3 separate regions of the Homo sapiens genome follow, and all the other regions are linked to region 3. The links are contacts of gene promoters, found by promoter capture Hi-C in human tissues and cell types (Jung and others, 2019). All regions are on one chromosome and are shown on one strand. Each heading gives the region's core, a stretch centred on a gene start or on the middle of the fragment in contact. The rest is flanking DNA. Distances are from core to core; before and after follow the strand shown. Region 1 overlaps UBAP2 (ubiquitin associated protein 2). Region 2 overlaps UBAP2 (ubiquitin associated protein 2). Region 3 holds the start of UBAP1 (ubiquitin associated protein 1).

What was found. The method cuts DNA at HindIII sites, captures the fragments that hold promoters and counts their contacts. A contact is called where the count stands out against the background at its distance.
Region 1: a contact is called between a fragment that was not itself captured here and the fragment with the promoter of UBAP1 in region 3, in 1 of the 25 tissues and cell types used here (dorsolateral prefrontal cortex).
Region 2: a contact is called between a fragment that was not itself captured here and the fragment with the promoter of UBAP1 in region 3, in 2 of the 25 tissues and cell types used here (dorsolateral prefrontal cortex and heart left ventricle).

The regions. Positions count from the first base shown.
Region 1 is chr9:33,920,974-33,925,324 of GRCh38, forward strand. It overlaps UBAP2 (ubiquitin associated protein 2), which reads right to left. Exons shown (of 29, transcript NM_001370062.2): 23 at 3,233-3,311; 24 at 2,822-3,027; 25 at 2,406-2,505; 26 at 2,213-2,320; 27 at 1,993-2,060; 28 at 1,714-1,905; 29 at 720-1,626. The coding sequence ends at 1,531. Among named protein-coding and RNA genes, the nearest start is that of SNORD121B, 11 kb to the right of the region's middle. RefSeq lists an enhancer at 4,143-4,351. The HindIII fragment of the contact is 6,345 bases long and covers 1-4,351 here.
Region 2 is chr9:33,982,120-33,986,573 of GRCh38, forward strand. All of the region lies in intron 6 of UBAP2 (ubiquitin associated protein 2), which reads right to left. Among named protein-coding and RNA genes, the nearest start is that of SNORD121A, 31 kb to the left of the region's middle. The HindIII fragment of the contact is 4,647 bases long and covers 1-4,279 here.
Region 3 is chr9:34,176,210-34,180,346 of GRCh38, forward strand. UBAP1 (ubiquitin associated protein 1) reads left to right here and starts at 2,834. Exons shown (of 7, transcript NM_016525.5): 1 at 2,834-3,031. RefSeq lists a silencer at 1-196 and enhancers at 1,883-2,841, 2,647-3,076, 2,842-3,798, 3,799-4,137. The HindIII fragment of the contact is 11,539 bases long and covers 1-4,137 here.

The DNA.
Region 1 (4,351 bases), core at 1,132-3,631, 260 kb before region 3:
TCTGAAGCAGCGATTTAGGAGTGAAAAGAGAGGCTGTAGCACCTTGGGCAACACTTCTAGGCCCTGAGCTTCCTGCCTGCTGGATTGGAGCACAGTTGTGGTTGGCCAACAGGAGATCTGCCTCCTTCCTATGGCCCTTGGTTACTCCCTGGCTTCTGACCTGACACAAGGTGAATGGTTGGTTGGGCTTTTCTGGAGCAGATATGTAGCCCCGGATCCACCAGCCTACCTCATGACACCCTCACTAGTCACGTGTTCTACCATAGCTTTTGACTGCCAATCAAGATTATGTTCAGTTGATGACAAGCAAAAGACAGGTATACCTGTTCATACTCTCCCTTAAGGCCTAGAACCCTGCTCTCAGTTCTTGGCTTTGCTTCAGATTGTAAAAGTCCACTGAGATTTGGAAAAGAAATTACCCTGCCCTGGTATCCAGTGGACAGGGCTCTGTGGGACACTGCCCTATCCCTAAGTCTCTTAAGGAGCTATAAGAAAAGCCAGGTTAACTTTGATCAACATGGCCTGGGCCCTGTAAGGAGGTTTAGCTGTCCTTACAGCCATTGTGATTTGGGCCAAGAGGGTCCAGTAAAAAGGAAAACCATTTCAAGCCTTTATAGCCTGTGTCAGAAGACTATGACCATGTGGGATCTCCTTTAGCCCTGTGAAGTCCAGGGCTTCTGCCCTGAGCTGCCCTTCAGTCACACCACACAGAGACCATGCATGCTCTCAGAACTTTATTAGGTGGGGATTGGGCAAGAGAAAACCCCTGAAACAGTTGCCCACGTGGTTCAAGACAACTAGAATGGAGATGTGTTGCTTGGAGATACCTTAGATTTTTAAAGGGGAGCTGACTGGCTGAATAACTCAGATTATTTTTTTTTTTTTCATGGTCAGCCAGTCTCTAGTAAGTCTCTAGGGACATGACCAGACCAGAAGCCCCTGTTCTATATGAAGACAAACAGGTGGCCATACTTGGGTGGAGGGATACCGCTGCTATTCCCAGATGAAGATTTGGTGGAAGGAGACCATGACAGATGACAAACGGAACAGTTTCTCAAAAACAGAGGTATGAAGTAATTACACAGGAAAGAAAACAATTTCCAAAGGAGTGAGACAAGTCGTGATTCTTCATTGGTACCTGACCCCTATACCCAAACAGCCTTGAACCAGCCCTTCCAGAGACTGCCCCTAGTGGCCCACTGGGCAGTGCAGGCTGTGAAGAAGACCTGAAGGCAGATGGGGTGGGGGTGCTTATTTTGCTACAGTGGAGAAGGGGCTTGAATGGGGAGGGCAGACCTGGCTAACATCTGCCGCCATCCCCCAACTCCCCCCCAGACTTCTATCACATTTACAAATACATACATAAATACATTACATACAGTAGCCAGTCTGGGAGGCAGACTCCCCACAGAGGCATGGCTGACACATGTCGGGAATTCTAGGAAAGGGCACTGGGCTCCCAAATACGTGCTCGTGTGTTCTCTCCTGCCCAGGATAAGCCTTGCCCCAGCCCACCCCTCTCTTCTGGGTTTAGTTTGTCCAGTATGGAGAGTTGCCGTAGGCAGGTTTGGAGGCTTGAGACTTGGGCTGCAGGGAGCTGGGCTGGCTGCGCTGACCCGAGCCACTCTGAGGAAGAGGAGAAGGGAAGGCTGTCAAGGCTGGAGCAGAACCCCTGGCCCAGAGTAGGGTGGCTGCCTCCATCACTGTACTCACCTGTGCATCCTGCGGAAGGTGGTGGTGCAGCAGCTGTGAGTGGGGCTGCTGGTGGGCTGGCAAGATGTGTAGGAATGGTGGGGGTGCATAGCCAGGGGCCGCTCCCGAGGCCAGGGGCCCAGTGGAGCCCAAGACCGAGGGCAGGCTGAAAGGTGGAGGCGTCCCTGCATGAAATCCCTGCTTGTCAAAAGTCTACAGGGCAAAGAAGACAATGGTGAAGGTCAGGTTGGGCTGTAACCTCTCAAAAACCTATACACCCAACCCACCTTTGTCCCTCACCTGTGTCTTATTGTAGACAGAACCAGTCATATCAGGTAGACCAGTGGTGCTTGAAGACACTGATACTCCTAGGAGGAAAAGCAGTTGTTCCCCACAGCAGTTGTTCCCAGCTCCAGGCTCCCCACCTCCAGGATCACTCAGGGGTTGCCCTGCCTGAGAGGGGATCAGGCAGGAGCCCACCACTCCAGGCCTTATCCTGGAAAGGAGAGGTAAACACTACCTTTGCCAGGCCCAGAACCTGCAGACTTGTTTGGTGCCTGCGATGATCCAGCATAGCCACCTTTGGAGTAGTCTCCTGCTGCTGTCCCCTGGGTCAGGTCGTCATAACCTAGCGTGGCAGGGTACAAGAGGCAAGTGTGAGCCAGGCAAGCCTGTCTAACCCCATGTGTCTCTGTCTGGGAAGTACCCCTCACCTGTACTGTAGCCGTGCTGGCCATAACCACTGGCCTGCTGGAAGGGAGGTGTGGGAGTGCTGAGGTTCACCCCATGTTGCTTGGCTGAGGCTGGAGGGACCTGGGGGGGCAAGCAGATGAGGTATTAGTGTAGGAAGAGGCAAGCTGAGGCTGGTCAGGTACCCCTGCCAGAGCCTAAGGCAGCAGGTGACATACCCACAACCACAGGGGACCTGTGTTTTCATTAGTGCAACACATGCTGGATCTAAACACAGCAGGGGAAAAGTGACCTTGTCCCCAGCCTGAACAGTTTCTGAAGACCAGGTAAGACGGAGTGGAATCACAACCCTCCCTCCCTGCTGGAAGATAGGTCCCAGGTTTCCACCTGCCAGCAACCCAAGGCCAGGAGACACAGTCACACCCTCTGAAATACTCACAAACATGGTGGGGCCATACTGGAAGGCACTGGGCATGCCTGTGTAGTAGGGAAGACCAGTGTAGCTATAGCCAGGTGGCAGTGCAGGATTCACGAAGGGCTGCTGGGCTGTGTGGTGGGTCTGTGATTGGCTCTGCTGTGGCTGAGCTGGTGTGGTAGCGGGTGCAGGGGATGCAGAGTCCCCACGGCCAAACTTTGTGACATCACCTAGGAAAGAGCACTGACTCCAGCCACTGCCCTTCCTCCAACCAGAGAAAGGCCACACTGGCTTCTGCAAACAGGAACAGGTCTGGCTGCCAGCTCAGCACAGGCTACTAAGAGGCCTCTCTCAGCTTGCTGTTGCTGCTTCCCAGCTCCTGGAGTTCGCGCTAGGCCGGCCCCGGGCTACTCCTCATCCATTGAGCAAACTCACCTGGATATGGATTATTAGCTAGGCTCCCATCTCGGCTGGCAAGCGCTGTGGGTGCAGCAAAGGGAATTCCATAGTAGTCCTAGGAGAGACCAGGGAGGCTTGATCAGCGACTGGCCCTGCTTGACTCCCAGGAGAGCAGAACCAGCACATGGAAGTGGTGACGCCACACTCCTGAAACAGACTCCATGCCTGAGAGCCAGCAGTCCCAGGGAACGCCAAGTAAATGGTGCCCCTCGGAAGAGTGTGCAACTAGGCGGCCTGCCTAACACATAAGCACACAGACCGGCCAACCCTGCAGCTTCACCAGGCAGAGCTGCTGGAGACCAAGCCTCACACATCCATTTGACACCACAGGCAGGTGCTTGTGTGAATGCCTCGGGCTGAACCAACTTCGCTGGCTTTTCTGTGTGAGAGACTAGAGCAGCTAGGAAAGCTGACTAAACAGAGCAGACCTGAAAAAGGAGGCAACAGAAGTGCAGGGGCCTGAAAGGTTTAAGGGGGGACAGGGGGCAGTGCCAGGTAGGCACGGGAATAAGCAGGACCCCAGGTGAAGCCCAGAACTGGCCTGTCACCACCTACACTGCTCTCAAAACACTGACATGGCCTAGGACAAGCTTGTCCAACCCACGGCCCATGACAGCTTTGAATGTGGCCCAACACAAATTCGTCTTTCTTAAAACATGAAATTTGTTTGCAATTTTTTTAAGCTCATCAGCTATCTTTAATGTTAGTGTATTTTATGTGTGGCCCAAGACAATTATTCTTTCAATGTGGCCCAAGGAAGCCAAAACATTGGACACCCCTGGCCCAGGACTTGGGGGAAGTATGGCAGATACAACAAAGTGTGGAGACAGAGACGGCAAAGCACAGTGGAGCTTCGTGGAGGAGGGGAGGTCTGACCTGACCCTCACTCACCATCCAGGGCCTCGCACTCCTGGACACACCTGGCCCCTGAGGAAAGGCAAAGCCCTTGGGCTGTGCCCGATCCCAGAAAGGAGCCATCCTGGCTGGGAATGGCACTCACACCCTCCAGGAAACCTCCCGGAAACCCATAGCAGCCTAGAACCCCCGGAAGAGGCAGAGCTGGGAACACACAGAGCTGCACAACTGAGGACGGGA
Region 2 (4,454 bases), core at 706-3,205, 190 kb before region 3:
CTTCAGGAAAGTCCTAAAAAAAATCTCAGCAGAACTGCCAGCAGCCAGCAGCCCCTCTTTCACCCAAGCTGTCAAAGGGCCTGCTGGTAAACATACTTACCTGACATTCTAATAATTCCGCTTCAACCCAAATCCTTTGCAAAAATCCTCAATTACACTCCACTAGCAAAAAAGCTTATGAAAGATATACTCTATAGGAATGATTTTTCAAGTGGCTCCAGCTTGAATGCAAACTCTGCTCCACACTTACGACAACTTACTATCCAGCAAGGCCAACTGATCAAGCTAAGAACAAAAACCAAAACAAATAAAAAATAGGTAGGTAGTTTGCCTACATAGCTGCTTTTATATAAAGCGAACGTAATAGATTTTGACAGTAAAATTAAGTGCCCATTTTGTCGCCCAGATAGTTTAAATGGACTATGTTTTTGATTGTTTGCATTCTGTTCCTATTCACCGGTATATATACTGATGAGAAAATTATATGAACAGCCACCATACAGTCCCAGTAAGAATAGGAAGAACAGGTCAAATAAAACACCATACCCCCTGCAGAATTTATCTAGCATACTTGCGATTAAGAAAAACTATGGTGATTTTACATGGTCTGTTAACTTTTATTTATTTGGGGTTTATTAGTCTAAATAGAACCAAGGTAAACATATCAACTTTTTCCTCAAAGTAATAACAGTACCCATCCTAACAGATACTCAATCTCCAATTCACTGGTTATCCCCTATAATGTGTGGTGTTTTTTTTTGTTTTTTTTTTTTTGTTTTTGAGACAGAGTCTCACTGTCACCCAGGCCGGAGTGCCATGGCATGATCTCGGCTCACAGCAACCTCCGCCTCCCAGGTTCAAGCAATTCTCTGCCCCGGCCTCCAAGTAGCTGGGACTACAGGCACATGCCACCATACCCAGCTAATTTTTTTGTATTTTGAGTAGAGACAGGGTTTCACTATGATGGCCAGGCTGGTCTCGAACTCCTGACCTCGTGATCTGCTCGCCTCGGCCTCCAAAAGTGCTGGGATTACAGATGTGAGCCACGGTGCCCGGCCCCCCTATAATGTGTTTTTATAACAATAAATCTGTCTGATTTATGACATGGATCAGCTTGTAATCCTTAAACATGTCTCTAAACAACCAATCCAAATACATACTGTGACTAGATTCCTACTGTCAAAGGGTAAAAGTAAAGGATTCAACAGTGTAGTCAGTAGTGGGATTTCAGTCATGAAGATTTGACGATTTCTCTAAGACGCCCACTAATGCCAGCAGAAGCATGTGAGAGATCAAATACCCTAGGAAAGAAAACCCTCTCCCTGGTAAGAGGGGAAGAAGCTGGGTTACTATGTATTCCTAAAACCTTAAGAACAAAGGAATATCAGAACAATGATATTTTAACCAGAACAGGGTGGTAAGGACTAATCACACACATAACGTTGGTCTTATACTGTGACCGCCCTCCCTGGTGAGACACAGTAAAATTTAGGGGTCAATAAAGTCATTTTATTCTTTCTTTTTGTTACCTTCTATTTTCTTTTTCTTCCCAAGGTGTGTACTTCAGGGTTTAGGACCTAATAAATTAGCAGAGGTGTACGTGCCAACACTCTTCGTTGCCATCTTTCTATCTTTGACAATAGTAAGTTTGAAACTTACTTTACAGAAACCTGGTCCTAAATATAAAAAATACTAAGCAGTTTCAGCTTGTGGAAGACAGAATTATACTTGGTTTTTACCAATTTACTATGTGGCATATGACAAGAAACTTTACCTAGAATAATACTGAATCCCTGGGATTTTTTTATTTGAGACAGAGCATCACTCTGTCACACAGGCTAGAGTGCAATGGTACAATCTCGGCTCACTGCAGCCTCCACTTCCCCCAGTTCTCGTGCCTCAGCGTCCCGAGTAGCTGGAACTACAGGCACACACCACCATGCCCAGCTAATTTTTGTATTTTTATTAGAGATGGAGTTTTACCATGTTGGCCAGGGTGGTCTCGAACTACTAATGTCAAGTGATCTGCCCACCTTGGCCTCCCAAAGTGCTGGGATTACAGGTATGAGCCACCACACCCGGCCTGAATCCCTGGGATTTAAAAATATGGTCTCCAATTTAGCCTCAGCATTAAGGAAGTATCATCTAAGAAATTTGCAGGATGATATTCATCTGAAAAGGGACTAATATTCAGACAATACAAGGAATCTAAACAACTCAACAGCCAAAATATAAATAATCCCATTAAAAAGTATGCAAACAGCTGGGCATAGTAGCTCACACCTGTAATCCCTGAGATTTGGGACACTGAGGTAGGAGGACAGCTTGAGGCCAGGAGTTCCAGACCAACCTGGGCAACATTGCAAGACCCCATCTCTTAAAAAAAAAATTTTTTTTTTTCTTTAAATTAGCCAGGCATGGTGGGGCTCATGCCTATAGTCCCAGCTGCTCAGGAGGCTGAGGTGGAAGTATCACTTGAGCCCAGGATTTCAAGGTTGCAGTAAGTTATGATCATGCCACTGCACTCCAGCCTGGGCAACAGAGTGAGACACTGTCTCTTAAGAGAAAAAAAAACAGTAGACAAAGGATCTAAAAAGACAATATACAAATGGCCAAAAGGTACACAAAAAATGCTCATCACTAAACATCAATAAAATACAAATGAAAACCACAATGAGATATCATCTTACCCCAGTTAGAACGGCTATTATCAAAAAGACAAAAAATAGCCTGTAATCCCAACTACTGAGGTGGCTGAAACAGGAAGATTGCCTGAACCCAGGAGTTCAAGACTGCAATGAGTTATGATCATGACACTGCATTTAACTAATTAAGCAAATTAAACAGATGCTGGTGAAGATACAGGGAAAAGGGAACTCTCATACACTATTGGTGGGAATATAAACTGGTACAGCCATTTTGGAAAACAGTATGGAGATTTATCAAAAACAAAAAATTGAATTACCGTATGATCCAGCAATCCCATTAGCAGATATTTATACAAAGAAAAGGAAACCAATAGTGCTTCATGTTTGCCAGGTTGTGGTGGCTGTGGCAATTTCTATTTTTTTTTAATTTTTAACTTTTTACAGATACATAATATTTAAACAAATTTATGGGGTACATGTGGTACTTTGTTACATGCAGAGAATATATAATTATCAAGTTGAGGTATTTAGGATATCCGTTACCATGAGCATTTATCATTTCTATGTGTTGGGAACTTTTCAAGTCCTCACTTCTAGCTATTTTGAAGTGAAGCACTATTCACAATATTCACAAATATAGAGAATCAACCTAAGTGTTCATCAACAGATGAATGGATTTTAAAAAGTGATATATTTACAGGTTGGAATACTACTCAGCCATAAAAGAATGAAATCACGTCCTTTGGAGCAACATGAATGGACTTGGAAGACATTGTGTTAAATAAAATAAACCAGACACAGAAAGATAAATATCACACGTACTCACTCATGTGGGAGCTAAAAAGGTTATCTCATGCAGGTAGAGAGTGGAATGATAGTTACCAGAGGCAGAGAAGGTGATGGGTATAGAGGGTGGGGAATAAAGAGAGATTGGTGGATAGGTTAAAACACAGAGAGAAGGAATAAATTCTAGGCCGGGCTCGGTGGCTCATGCCTGTAATCCTACCGCTTTGGGAGGATTAGGCAGGTGGATCACTTGAGGCCAGGAGTTTGAGACCAGCCTGGCCAACATGGTAAAACCCCATGTCTAGCAAAAATACAAAAATTAGCTGGGCATGGTGGCGTGCACCTGTAGTCCCAGCTACTCAGGAGGGTAAGTAGGAGGATTGTTTGAGCCCAGGAGGTGGAGGTTGCAGTTAGCTGAGATGATGCCACTGCACTCCAGCCTGGGTGACAAAGTAAGACCCTGCATTTAATTATGCCTGGATAATTTTTGTATTTTTTTGTATTTTGTATTTTTTCTGAGACAGAGTCTTGCTCACTTGCCCAGGCTGGAGTGCAGTGAGGAGATCTCGGCTCACTGCAACCTCCACCTCTTGGGTCCAAGCAATTCTCCTGCCTTAGCCTCTCAAGTAGCTGGGACTACAGGTGCGTGCCACCACACTTAGCTATTTTTTATATTTTTTGGTAGAGACAGGGTTTCCTTGTGTTAGCCAGGCAGGGTCTCAAAAAAAGGGAATAAGTTCTAATGTTCAACAGTAGAGTAAGATGACTACTTAACAATTACGTATTATACACTTCAAAATAGCTAGAAGTGAGGACTAGAGCAAAAAGACTACAACTCACTGAAAGCTCAAATGATCATAGCCTTTTTTAGCAATAAAGTATTTTTAAAATAAGGTTTAAAAAACCCTATTGCATTGTATTCCAAACGTAATACAATTATAATTTGTCAATGCTTTTGGTTAGAGCTTTAAGTTTTAAATTATTCATAGGGCTTTCTCAGCTCATCCAAAAACAACCCTT
Region 3 (4,137 bases), core at 1,584-4,083:
GAAAGATACAGGGTAGGGGAAACAGAGGACTGGCATCCTATTCAGCCTCTTCTGGCCCCAGGTGAGTCAACACTGGGATTCACACCTAGAAACTGACAAGTATGAATCACTCCTAGGAAGGTTAAGAGGTATTTGTTTTTCTAGGTAAATGCCTCCACTTCTTTTCCATTTCTTTTTTTTTTTTTTTTTTTTTTGAATGGAGTTTTGCTCTCGTTGCCCAGGCTGGAGTGCAATGGTGTGATCTCAGCTAACCGCAATCTCTGCCTCCTGGGCTCAAGCAATTCTCCTGCCTCAGCCTCCCAAGTAGCTGGGATTACAGGCATTTGCCACCACACCTAGCTAATTTTTTTTGTATTTTTAGTAGAGACGGGGTTTCTCCATGCTGGTCAGGCTGGTCTTGAACTCCTGACCTCATGTGATCTGCCCGCCTCGGCCTCCCAAAGTGCTGGGATTACAGGCATGAGCCACTGTGCCTGGCCTTTTTTTTTTTTCTGAGACAGAGTGTTGCTCTGTCACCTAGGCTGGAGTGACGTGGCGCAACCTCACCTCACTGCAACCTCCACCTCCCAGGTTCAAGTGATTCTTCTGCCTCAGCCTCTTGAATAGCTAGGATTACAGCTGCCACCATCACGCCCAGCTAATTTTTGAATTTTTAGTAGAGATGGGGTTTCACCATGTTGGCCAGGCTGCTCTCGAACTCCTCACCTCAGGTTATCCACCTGCCTTGGCCTCCCAAAGTCCTGGGATTATAGGCATGAGCCACTGCGCCCAGACTTTTTTTTTTTTTTTTTTTTTTGAGACAGGGTCTGGCTTTGTCACCCAGGCTGGAGTGCAGTGGCTTGATCTCGCTCACTGTAACCTCCTCCTCTTGGGTTCAAGCGATTCTCATGCCTCAGCCTCCCACATAGCTGGGATTACAGGCGCCCACCTAGCTAATTTTTATTTTGTATTTTTAGTAGAGATGGGGTTTCACCATGTTGGGTAGGCTGGTCTTAAACTCCTGACCTCAGATGATCTGCCTGCCTCAGCCTCCCAGAGTTCTGGGATTACAGGCGTGAGCCACCACACCCGACCTTGTTTTTTTTTTTTTTTTTTTTTTGAGACAGAGTCTTGCTCTGTTGCCCAGGCTAGAGTGCAATGGCATGATCATTGCTCACAGCAGCCTTAACCTCCCAGGCTGAGGCCATTTTCTCACCTCAGCCTCCTGACTAGCTGGGACCACAGATGTGTACAACCATGTCTGGCTAATTTTTTACAATTTTATTTTATTTTTAGACAGGGTCTCATTTGCAGAACCCAATAGCTGGGACTACAGTCGTGTACCACCATGCCCAACTGTTTTTTGTTGTTGTTAGAGATGAAGATTCTCCACGTTGCCCAGGCTGGTCTCAAACTCCTGAGCTCAAGAGATCTGACCATCTTGGCCTCCCAAAGTGCTGGGATTACAGGCGTTAGCCATCGTGCCTAGTCATTTTATTTTATTTTATTTTATTGCGACAAGATCTTGCTCTGTCACCCATGTTTGGAGTACACCAGCACAATCCTGGCTCACTGTAGCCTCGACCTCTCAGGCTCAAGTGATCCTCCTATCTCAGCCTCCTGAATAGTTAGGACCACAGGCACATGCCACCACGCCCAGATAATTTGAGTTTTTGTAGAGACAAGGTCTCACTATGTTGCCCAGGCTCACCTAATTTTTACCAAACTTTTTGTAGAGACGGGGGTCTCATGTTGCTTAAATTGGTCTTGAACTCCTGGGCTCAAGAGTCATCTTATTCAATTAATAATTCTCTGTCTCCTAATTCCAGCAGACATAGAAAGACACAGAAGGCCAGCGCCATGGCTCACGCCTACAATCCCAGCAATTTGGGAGACTGAGGCTTGAGCCCAGAAGTTTACCACCAGCCTGGGCAACATGGTGAGACCCCGTCTCTCCATATATATATATAAAATAATAAAAATTATCCGGGCGTGTTGGCATGTGGCTATAGTCCAAGCTACTCAGAAGGCTGAGGTGGGAGGATCACTTGAGCCCGACAGGTGGAGGTTGCAGGGTTGCAGTGCGCCAACATCGCGCCACTGCACTCCAGCCTAGGCGACAGAGCGAGACCCTGTCTCAAAAAAACAAAAAACACCCCAAACAGAAACAACAACAACAACAAAAACCCCCACAGAAGGCAGTGAAGGCTTGGGATAGGATTACCTGGTTTAAACCCATAGAATGTCAGAATTGAAGGAAGACTTAGAGGTCACCTTTGTTTTTTTTTCTTTTGATACAGAGTCGCGTTCCGTTGCCCACCTGGAGTGCAGTGGCGCGATCACGGCTACCGCAGCCTCGACCTCCCGGGCTCAAGCGACCCTCCTGCCTCGGCCTCTCAAAGTGCTGGAGTTACAGGCGTGAGCCACTGCGCCCGGCCTAGAAGTCACCTTTCAACTTAGTCCTCTATACATGGGAAAAGTGAGGTCCAGAAAGGGTATGAGTTGTACCAGGTCGCTGACCCTGAACAGAAGCTAGATGTCTTAATTCCCAAATAGGACTCGCTGCTAACTCTTTGGGCATACCTTCGCGATTCAAGGCTCTTGGGTTTCCCGCTTTGGCCGCCTCGCCAAACCCAAGTCTTACACTCTTAGTGACCCCCTCCTTTCCTCCTTCCCCCTTAGGTCAGCAGGGTTTACTCATTCCAATTGCAATGCTCCATGTTGCCGGAGTAGCTCCTCGCTAGAAGAGAGATTAGTTATGTCACCGTCGGCTCCTCCCATTGGTCCGGGCGTGTGGAGCGCGGCGCCATGACGTCAGACGCCCAAATGAGTGGGGCGGTGAGGGGAAGGAGGAGGGAAGTAGGACTTCAACATGGCGGCTGCGGCACTGGCGGTGGCTACGGTGACGGCCTGGCCCGGAGCGGGCAGAGTTGGAGGTGGTGGCGTTCGCTCTCCCTAGGGGCTGTCGGGAGCTCAGCGGGGACCGAGCCTGGGAGGCCGGCCGGTGCCAGCACCTTTCGGCTTCTGAGACGGCGGCAGCAGCGGCATTCAGGTGAGGGGGGCCTCCCTCTGGGGGAGGGGGAAGAGGGGCGGAGTTGGGGGAGGGGGGCTGGTACTGGGAGACTGGGAAACGGGATGGGGGGCCGAGCGAGGTGAAGGGCGCCGGAGCTAGGAGGTGGGAGGGAAAAGTGGCCGGAGATCCGCGATTCGGGGAGGATTCTGGGAGAAGGGTCGGAGTGAGGGGACCGGAGTTGAAGGGGCGGAGGGGAAGTGGGATGCGGAAAAATGAGTTCGGATTAAGGAGACTAATACCCTACTGGAAGACAGGCATAGTAGACATCTATCGGGCTGGACTGAGAACTCGGTGGGAACTAGAGGATGTCAGGGAGGGGGACCCAGATTTTAGTAAAGAAGGTGAGTGGTGGGGAGTTGAGGGTGAGCTGGGGACGTGCGGTGTAGATTTAGTTCTCCCTGAGGCAATGAGATTGGGGAGAAAAGGTGGAGACTAGACCAGAGGTGAGTGATCTTTGGGGATATCTTTGGCCTTGTCTGGTCTTCTCCAGGTATGTTTATCCGCCTTTTTTGTTTCTTGGGTGGAGGCTTACCTATACAGTCCACCTGGGCCTCAGGAACCGCCCCAGTCTTTCTTGTGGAACGTCAGGTTCATTTATTTGAGCTATATCAGTGATCTTTGACCTTTGTTGCCAAATGTAATTGTTTCCAGACTAGCGTCTTAAAAGTATGGTTGGGCATAAAAATACGTTTTATGTTAAACTGAAAAAAAAATTGTTACTTTTAGTCACCATGCAGTGTTGCGAAACCAGATTTGGTAATTTAGTTAAGTATTACGTATATTCTGTTCTAACTTTACTCGTTAGTGCTTTGTCTCTTCAGTTATTAGCATTTGAGAATTTGAATAGATATGATGGATGTTTTCCTTTTTAATTTTGTCAGATTTGATGGTGGGAAAAACAAGATACTTAGTCTTTAGTGATATATAGTTCTTTCTAGTTAATGTCCCAACCTAAACTAAAAGTTTCCGTATTGGCCGGGCGCTGTGGCTCACGTCTGAAATCCCAGCACTTTGGGAGGCCGAGGCGGGCGGATCACGAGGTCAAGAGTTCAAGACCAGCCTGACCAACATGTTGAAACCCTTTC